Linked DNA regions of Homo sapiens: region 2 is linked to region 1. Evidence: promoter capture Hi-C in 16 types of primary human blood cells and fetal thymus (Javierre and others, 2016). All regions are on one chromosome and are shown on one strand. Each heading gives the region's core, a stretch centred on a gene start or on the middle of the fragment in contact. The rest is flanking DNA. Distances are from core to core; before and after follow the strand shown.

Region 1 (4,841 bases), core at 1,538-4,037:
TCTGAGGTCAGGAGTTCGAGAGCAGCCTGGCCAACATGGGGAAACCCCGTCTCTACTAAAAACAACAAAAATTAGCTGGGTGTGATGGCGGGCGCCTGTAATCCCAGTGACTCGGGAGGCCGAGGCAAGAGAATCGCTTGAACCCAGGAGGTGGAGGTTGCAGTGAGCCTAGATAGCGCCATTGCACTCCAGCCTGGGCAACAAGAGCGAAACTCTGTCTCAAAAAAAAAAAAAAGGCTAGTTTTAATAACTCCAGAGCTCTTCCTTAATAATAATAATATTGTACTCCCCTAAAGCACGTGAATTACAAAATCCTCATCTCATTTTTTCCCCTCATAGACCCCAGCAAATTATTTATTTCCCATTTTACATAAAGGAAATGGACCTTCAGTGAGGGTCAGTCATTTGTTGCCAGTTTCAGCTCAGTGGAGAAGTGGGACTCTGATGGGGCCCGAGGTCCTCCCAATCCAAGCTCCACATTTTTACCACTGAAACTGCTTTTCCATGAGGTTTCACACCTGCAATCTAGCATGGCCTAGGGGCTTTGGTTTTCCTCCTCAGAAGTTCCAGCTCAAATAGTTTTACTAATCAATTGAAAACTGGCAAGTGGTTACTTAACTCTCACTGAAGCAGCTGCGGGGAGAGAGGTCTGGCCATGCCTGTGGGGCCTGGAATCAGAGGCTCTTCCTTCTGAGTTCTACAGGGACTGCCTCCAACCAGAATGCAGGAATCCTGCAGAGGCCCTGACCTCTGGGTGGATACTATCACACCATTCAAAACACACACACACACATACACACACCACACACCACACACACACCACACACCACACATATACACCACACACTACACACACACCACACGCTACACACACACCACACATACCATGCACATACACACACCACACATACACACCACACACTACACACACACCACACGCTACACACACACCACACATACCATGCACATACACACACCACACACACCACACACATATATACCACACACATACACACACCACACACATACACACACCACACACACACCACACACATATACACACCACACACACACACCACACACACATCACACACACATCACACACACCACACATACACACACCATACACACACACCATACACACACACCACACACATACACACACCACACACTACACACACCATATACACACACCACACACCATACACACACACCACACACCATACACCACACACCACACATACACACACACACCACACACTACACAGACACACCACACATACACACACACCACACATACACCACACACACACACCACACAGACACACCACGCAGACACCACACACCACACACAATCTCAAGGGGATTTCAAATCCCTCAGACTGAATGTCTGTGGTAAGAGGTGGGTTCTAGGGGCAAGCTCTTGCGGGGAAGGGCCATAGCCGGCAGGACCCCGTGGCTTAAGGCTACTGACCAGATGGAGTTCTTTCTGAAACTCCTCTTTGTGATTTTTCTTTTTGAGTTCCAGGCAGTTGTTCTTCAGACCCCTATACTTCTCCTTGCCATCCCCCTTGTCTGTTTTCACGATGTCCTTAGTTCCGCTGAGCTCCACGGAGTAAATTTCTGGGGTTTTCTGAAAGAGAAGCCCAGGTGCAATATTGGCCCCAAATGGGGTTTCCGAAGAGGTGCTGAGCGCCCCTCTGCGGGGTCAGGACCTGCAGGAGTCAGGAGCCCCTTCTCCCTTTCCTTCCCTCCTCTGGGGAGGCCGGAGGGAGTCGGACAGTGGAGTCTCTCCCCCACCTCCCGCCGACCTTGGCTTCCTCTCCGTCCGTGTAGAGGGGAGGCGGGGTGGGCACAGGCCAGCCAGCAGCTCCTCAGGGTGACCCTTCTCTGGGTGGAGCAGGTGGGAAGTTACCCCCCCAACTCCTGACTGATGCCTCCAAGGAGCTGTGAGGTTTCCTTAGAACCTCGAGGTTCCTTAGGCACCTCGAGGTTTCCTCTGAGGTGTCCTTCCCAGGGGACACAACAGCTGTGCGTCCTGTTTCTTGGGGAGGAGGCACCCACTAAGCTTACGACCCTCAGTCCTGATCAGGGGGCCCTAACCGGAAGTCTTTTCAGACCGCAACGAATCCATGTCACCCCATCCTCCGAGTCGGAGCCCGCAGGTGCCATGGAGCTGGCCTAGGACCCCTTGGCCCCTTCTCGCTCCTCTGGACTGGCTTCTTTCCCCAGCCAGCCCCGGCGGCCGCACGGAGCCGTGGCGGGGAGTCAGAGAAGCGGTGCCCAGGCCGGGGGGCGCTCAGAGGAAAGGCGGCCTCCCCTTGCCCCGGGACGGGGCGTTTCTCCTCTTCGCCTTTTCCTCGCTTCCCGTCAGCCTGCTCCGGTCCCCGGGGCCTTGGCCCAGCGTCTCGCATCCTCGGCCGGCGCGGGGGCTGCACGCACCTGGTGCATGCTGGGCTGGTGGCGCCGCGGGCTGCGGGCGTGGAGCGCGGATCCGGGACCGCAGCGGCGGAGCGCACGGTGGGGGGCCTCGTGTGGCTGTGGCAGTGGCAGTGGCTGAGGTGTTGGCGGTGGAGATACCGGCGGCGGCGCGGGCCCTGCACGCACCTCCGCGGCCGATCGCCAGCCGCTGCACCGGGGAGGTGGCACCAGCCTTAAATGCCGCCCGCCCCGCCCACGTCCCCGCCAGGGCGCAGGCCAGCGGACGCCTCGGAGGGTAGGAAACCCGCCGGCGCGCGCGCAGGGAGGGGGACCGACAGCTAGGGGTCGGGAGAGTCCAGGATTGAGGACCCCCTGGGAATCCCCTTCCCTTTAGTAGCCGAACGCCAGGGGGCGGGGTCTCTAGGGGGCGGGTCCGGCATCCAGGTGAGTACAGCCCTGGTTCCGCTGGGCGCCCAGAGCCGGACCAGCTGCTCCGGCGAGCTCCCGGCACGCCCACGTCCTGTCCAGGCTTCCCTGAAAACCCACACATGCCTTTTTTTAAAAATGTAATTTGCCTACCAATAAATCAATTTATAAAAATGTGTATGCAGAGAAGGGGAAATTGCAGTTTCTAACAGCAACTACTGTTGGAGATGTCCCGGCTAGAAAAGGCCAATGTGTTTTTGAGAATGGATTTAGATAGGTAAATTCAAGCTTCCGAGAGAATTTGGGAATAACTGAGAGACTCTGAAGAGTAGCTGAATTAATTTGCCGGATCCAGATAAGAATTTGGAATTCTGAAACAATTTGGAGAGGGAATGGGGAGGAGAGATGAGAGGATTAGGGTCGGTGAGACCACAGGAACCTGGGGCCCCAGGCTGCGGGTGCGCAGGAGCGGAGGCTGTTGGCTGGACTGGGCTGGAGAGGTCTGTCTCCACCTATTTATGTCACTCCCAGCTGAGACTCTATACATGAAGGAGAAAAGAATTTCTGACCCTGAAAGTTGATGTGCATACTAAAGCAGTGGTTGTTTTATACTGCTAAGTTTGGGTTGGTTTGTTATGCAGCAATAGATAACTGGGACATGCTCCATGCTCTTAGTGCCCAGCATGAGTTTTTGCACAGGATAGAAAAGGTATTTTCCCCCTGACACTTGAAACATAATTACTCCAGATGAGAAAGATAGCCTGAAAACAATATATCAGAGAGATATTTAGCAGTTAACAGTGGAGGAAATCAAACACGTTCTTTTAAAAGAATGAATCGTGAAGTCTTAAAGTCAGTGAAGAATATTAATTAATGGAGAGGAACATAAAAAATAAAACCCACGAATAGAGTTTAGTAATCAGCACCTATTTAGAAGAACAATAAGAAATTGACATGATTGAAATATATGAAAGGGAGTAGAGATAAGTTTCAAAAGAGGGGGCACTTTATTGGGCCCTTGATGCTCTGCTAATAAGTTTCCATTTAGATAAGGACTAATAGGAGGGTGCTAAGTTTTATTCTTTTTGAAAGTTATATATCAAATATGGTAAGAAAGATTGTCATTTTGACCATATTTAAAATGACTAAGAGTGAGGAGTCCAGAGAAGCAGCAAAAGTAACAATCCCATCATGCAGTGACTAGAACATCTGGCAGAAAACATGAAGAGCATTGGGTACATTTAGAAAAGGTAGAAGAAAAACAATAAGCTTGTGCCCGGCCGGGCGCGGTGGCTCACGCCTGTAATCCCAACGCTTTGGGAGGCCGAGGCGGGCGGATCACGAAGTCAGGAGATCGAGACCATCCTGGCTAACACGGTGAAACCCCATCTCTACTAAAAATACAAAACAATTAGCCGGGCATGGTGGTGGGCGCCTGTAGTCCCAGCTGCTCGGGAGGCTGAGGCAGGAGAATGGCATGAACCCGGGAGACGGTGGAGCTTTCAGTGAGTGGAGATCGCGCCACTGCACTCCAGCCTGGGCGACAGAGCGAGACTCTGTCACAATAAAAAAATTAAAAAAAAAATAAGAAAAAAAAGCTTGTGCCCAATTCTAATTAGGAATTAATTATAACTTCCTGTTCCTTTCAGATGCTAAATTTCCATAATAATTTCAGAGCATGACTATAGTTGGTGGTGAGGGACAATTGGGAAAAGAAGCTTATTTTGAGGGAATTTGAAGTGTTAGCAGTTAGAGACGTGGTTTTGTAAAGTAGCAGTAGAGACAAAGATACTTTCTCATGGCATATTTGTGATCTTAGATTTTCCACACCTCTCTGTTCATCATGGCTTTCAAATGAGACTAAGGGAATGTGTTGTACCCGACATAGTGAACTGTCTCCATAGTGCTGCACACATAGGTCTTTCCCCGCTCTCCCTCCTTCTTCCGTTCCAAAAGGGCAGAATCTGAAGCCTGGGTTCCTCCCTCTGTGAAGC
Region 2 (4,841 bases), core at 1,479-3,978, 55 kb after region 1:
ACCTACTATGCGCATGGCATCAGCTCCCAGAGAGCTAACAGTGTAGCCAGTGAGGACGTGCGCTTTGCTAAAAGGAAATCTGTTTTGCTTCTCTCCCCTAAACCAGTCTGGCAGCCTAAAGGCTATTGGTTCAGGCTTCGGCCTGTTTTCCTCAAACGCTGTTTTCATCAGTCCCTGCCTTGCTGGGAACTCCTGGGGACTCCTTGCTACACCACGGACACCCTCTTTTGCCTTTTGCTTAATACCAAGGGTAATGTGGCCCCTACTCCTGGGCCGAGCTTATCTCTCATGTCCCTTTGCTCCCCCACAGGGAATCGATCCTGCCCTAGTGGGGTGTCTGCACCACCATGATCTACCCAACCTCTGGACCTCACATTTTTGAAGCCGGTCCAGCTCCACCTGCAAGGGTGAGGCCTCCCGGGCTTGGGCCAACTAGAACTTCTTTTGGCTGGCGCCGTCCTGCTCCCCAGTTGTTGGATGCCTGATTCGGTGTCTTTCCTTGAACTACCCGCTCTTTAGAGAACCAGGCTGACACAGAGTGCTCCTGCTTATTCCCTGCTCCGCGCCCTGCTCCCGCGGCTGGCCTGTAACCGACAACTTTGCCTCTGAAACCTTTGCCGGCCTCCTCCCCTCTTCCAGGAGCCCAGCGCCCTGTGCGGTGTCCCTTGCCACGGCGCCGTCTGGCGGTGGAGCCGGGCACCTGCAGGCTGGAGCCCACGTTGCCTGAGAACAGTCCCAGGGGAAGGGGAGGAGGGTCAGGGCTCCCCTTTTCTGATGGGATGCTGGCTCCATTGCAGCCACAGCTGGGGGTTCATCCCTCCTTTGTACGCACCCCTTTTCCCCGGAGTGCCTAGCGATGGATACAGACTTGCAGGTTACTTATTTAAAATCAAAACCAGCTGCGGCCAAAGTGTAGTGAGTACTCATCACTGGCTGGGCGTTTTATGGCCTGTGAGTTTCCATTATCCCAGTTAAATCTTCAACAGCCCGGTGCCCTAGGAATTATCATCCCCACTTTGCTAAGGAGAACCTGGGCTCCTCAGATGTTAGGAGGTGAAAATGACAGGCCAGTAGGTGTCAGAAGCAGGGCTCTGGACTCCAGCCTTCCGACTTCAAACCCTATGCTTTTAAAAATCATTCCATTTGCTTCACTAATTTTCTGTGAAAAATCACTGGTTTCCATAGTGGAAACTCACAAGTGGCAGCTAAGTGATTGGAGAACAATCATTAGTAGACCCAGGTTTAAATTCAGAATCTGTAATGGACTTCCTGGAAGACATTAACCTGCTAGGGTGTCAGTTTCCTGTCCCCACCCCGCACTGGGCAAACCAGATCAAATGTGCAAGGGCGCTGTGGAAGAAAGGTTTCTCTCCTCTGTAGTAATATCTTTTGCTAGAAAGGTTTTTTTAAATAAATGTATTCTAAGGGCAAGGAGAAACCAAATTTGAAATCCATTTGTCTGCAGTGCACTTGACCCAAGTTTTTTCTGGAATTTTGCTGTCTTTTCTGATGTCATAAACTCTAAACTAGCTGGGAAATTCAGATGACAAACACAGACTCTGCCTGGGCTCCAGGAGTGTGTCATGGGCAGCAGCAGTAGCAGCCGGACGTGCCATAGACCATGTCATCCTTGTGGCTTCACTCCTCTCCCTGATGTTGCAATGGACGCCCAAAAAGCCACCTGGTCCTGTCTTTTTCTGACTCCTGGGAGGGCCCACAAAGTAGAGACTACCAGTATTTGCATAGTTCTCTGCAGTGTACACAGCCCTTCTTAATCACAGCTACACGTTCAGCCTCTGCAATAACCCGGTGAGGTGGGTGTTGTCACACCCATTTTACATTTGAGGAGTTGGAAGTTCAGATGTTCAGTAACTTGACAAAGGTTTCATTCTAGTAAGTGGCAACACTCATTCTCAAACCCAGCTCTTTGGATACAGGCCTTGTCTTTCTTGCTACACCAACACGTACCCCACAAAATCTGCTCAGTGCTTGCACTGGCACTGTGGGGGCACCTGCCTCTGAAGGTGCAGAGAAGTCACCCTCCTTCCTCCATGAGGCCTCTCTCTCTTCCTCGCTCCCTCTCTCTTTCTCTATCTCTTGCTCTCCCTCTTTTCACATGTTTATTGAGTGCTTATTACATTTGTCAAAAGACAAAAATTACAACAAATGCAGTTTAAAGATCCTAATTGGCCTTTATTTGTGATTCTAGAATTGAGCAACACTCCATTCCATAAAATAGGAGTGTTTTGATAAGGCCAGCAGAGGGGGTTGACTTTTTAAACAGAAAAAGGCTGAGGAAAACAGAAACAGGAAGCAGAAGGCGGGTTGGTTATTAGAAAGTAGTTTTTCTCGTAAAGGTTAAAGAAGAGGGGACTTCTTCCTGCTTGTTAAAACCGACCTGTTTGGGGATTTGGCTATTATCTCTCTCTCCTGATCTCTTGGAAGGTCAAATAAACAACTTAGTTTCAGTTTGGTGTCATGAAAGTTTGGCAGGAGTAACTCCATTTTGGTTTGCTCTGTTGGGTCTATTGCAGGAGCTCAGCCCAAACCAATGGCTTCCTATAAGTTCATTTAACAAATCTCAGACTTTGTCCTAGGTGCTGGAGATATAACAGTGAACAAAGCTTACATAAATCTTGGAACTTATTTTCTAGAGGAAGAAGATAGAAAATAAATTATTTGGCTGTTGGTGGTAAGTGCTAGGAAATTAAATATGCTGTCATCTTCTCTCACACAAGCTGGTTCATTTAAGAAGGAAAGAACCAAGTGAGATGTGGAAAGCCTGTGCAATCTTTGTTTATGTGAAGCCAGAGGGATCTTTTCAGAAGCTTGGATCTGATCCTGTCTGTTCTCCCCACCAAACACAAGCTCTCTTCCCCGCTTCCTGTGGCTCTGGAGAGCCTCCCCACCCCCGTCACCCCTCCTGGGCTGAACAGCTTCCAGGCTCCTCAGCCTCTCCAGCCTTCCTCACTCTCAGGCCCCCTGAGGTCCCGCTCACTGACCTGACCTGGTCCAACCTGGACCCCACTCCTTCCCCAAGGACTTACTTGCCACTCCCTGGCTGGGCCAGGCCTGGTGCTCTGCCCCCAACGCAGGGCTTCCCTCCACCCGTTCAGCTGCTCAGCTGTGGGAGCTCGGCTCAACGCCCTTCCTTGGGAGATGGCAGCCAGCCCTCCCCACTGCCCCACTGCCCCGATTTCAGACCCCATGTTCCTTTTTCTTTCACAGCCCTGATCACAGTGGCAAATTCACCCTCCTTGGTGTGGTTGGTTAATGATTCTCTCTCTGGATGCTGGCCCCCAGGGTGGGACCTGATGGGATCTATTCATCCAGCCCCAGTCCAGGGCCTGAACCCTGGTGGAATCCCCCCAGAGGCCACTGTGTGTCCGGAATTGGTGGGTTCTTGGTCTCACTGACTTCAAGAATGAAGCCGCCGACCCTCGCGGTGAGTGTTATAGTTCTTAAAGACGGTGTGACCAGAGTTTGTTCCTTCTGATGTTCGGACGTGTTCAGAGTTCCTTCCATTCTGGTGGGTTCGTGGTCTCGCTAGCTCAGGAGTGAAGACACAGACTTTCACGGTAAGTGTTATAGCTCTTAAGGCAGCGCATCTGGAGTTGTTCATTCCTCCCGGTGGGTTCATGGTCTTGCTGGCCTCAGGAGTGAAGCTGCAGACCTTCGCAGTGAGTGTTTACAGCTCATAAAGGCAGTGCAGATGCAAAGAGTGAGCAGCAGCAACATTTATTGCAAAGAGCAAAATAACAAACCTTCCACACTGTGGAAGAGGACCCGAGTGGGTTGCCACTGCTGGCTCAGGCAGCCTGCTTTTATTCCCTTATCTGACCCCACCTACATCCTGCTGATTGGTCCATTTTACAGAGAGCTGATTGGTCCATTTTGACAGGGTGCTGATTGGTGCATTTACAAACCTTGAGCTAGACACAGAATGCTGATTGGTGCATTTACAATCCTCTAGCCAGACATAAAAGTTCTCCAAGTCCCCACCAGATTAGCTAGACACAGAGCACTGATTTGTACGTTTACAAACCTTTAGCTAGACACAGAGTGCTGACTGGTGTATTTACAATCCTTTAGCTAGACATAAAAGTTTTCCAAGTCCCCACCAGATTAGCTAGATACAGATGCTGATTGGTGCATCCACGAACCTGGAGCTAGACACAGAGTGCTGATTGGTGCATATACAATCCTCCAGCTAGACATAAAAGTTCTGCAAGTCCCTACCTGACTCAGGAGCCCAGCTGGCTTCGCCTAATGGATCCTGTGCTGGGGCCATCCCATGCTGCGCAGGAGCCCACCACAGGGGAGGGGGTGTGGGGGCCTCAGGCATGGTGGGCTGCAGGTCCTGAGCCCTGCCCCACGGGGAGGCAGCTGAAGCCCAGCAAGAATTTGAGCATGACATGGGCGGGCCAGCAGTGCTGGGGGACCAGGTGCCCCCTCCACAGCTGCTGGCCCGGGTGCTAAGCCCATCACTGCCTGGCGTCGGCTGCGCCAGCAGGCCGCTCTGAGTGTGGGCGCGTTGAGCCCGTGCCCACCCGGTACTCACAATGGCCCCAGAGTGCCACATGCAGCCCCGGTTCCCGCCCGCGCCTCTCCCTCCACATCTCCCCGCAAGCAGAGGGAGCCAGCTCCAGCCTAGGCCAGGCCAGAGAGGGGATCCCACAGTGCAGCAGTGAGTTGAAGGGCTCCTCAAGCATGGCCAGAGCAGACTCCAAGGCCAGAGCATGCTGCGGCCCTGGCTACAGATCCACTAGGCAAAACCAGCTGTGCTCCTGAGTCGGGTGGGGACTTGGAGAACTTTTATGTCTAGCTGGAGGATTGTAAAT

Evidence for each region. The method cuts DNA at HindIII sites, captures the fragments that hold promoters and counts their contacts. A CHiCAGO score of 5 or more calls a contact.
Region 2: a fragment that was not itself captured here is called in contact with the fragment with the promoter of ATP12A in region 1 in 1 of 17 cell types (total CD8 T cells); the score reaches 5.3 in total CD8 T cells.

The regions. Positions count from the first base shown.
Region 1 is chr13:24,678,354-24,683,194 of GRCh38, reverse strand. It overlaps ATP12A (ATPase H+/K+ transporting non-gastric alpha2 subunit), which reads right to left and starts at 2,787. Exons shown (of 23, transcript NM_001676.7): 1 at 2,443-2,787; 2 at 1,475-1,633. The coding sequence starts at 2,451. RefSeq lists enhancers at 1-54, 55-556, 656-1,236 and a silencer at 2,430-2,739. The HindIII fragment of the contact is 1,067 bases long and covers 2,071-3,137 here.
Region 2 is chr13:24,623,127-24,627,967 of GRCh38, reverse strand. No RefSeq gene overlaps it. Among named protein-coding and RNA genes, the nearest start is that of ATP12A, 55 kb to the left of the region's middle. RefSeq lists an enhancer at 1-346. The HindIII fragment of the contact is 204 bases long and covers 2,627-2,830 here.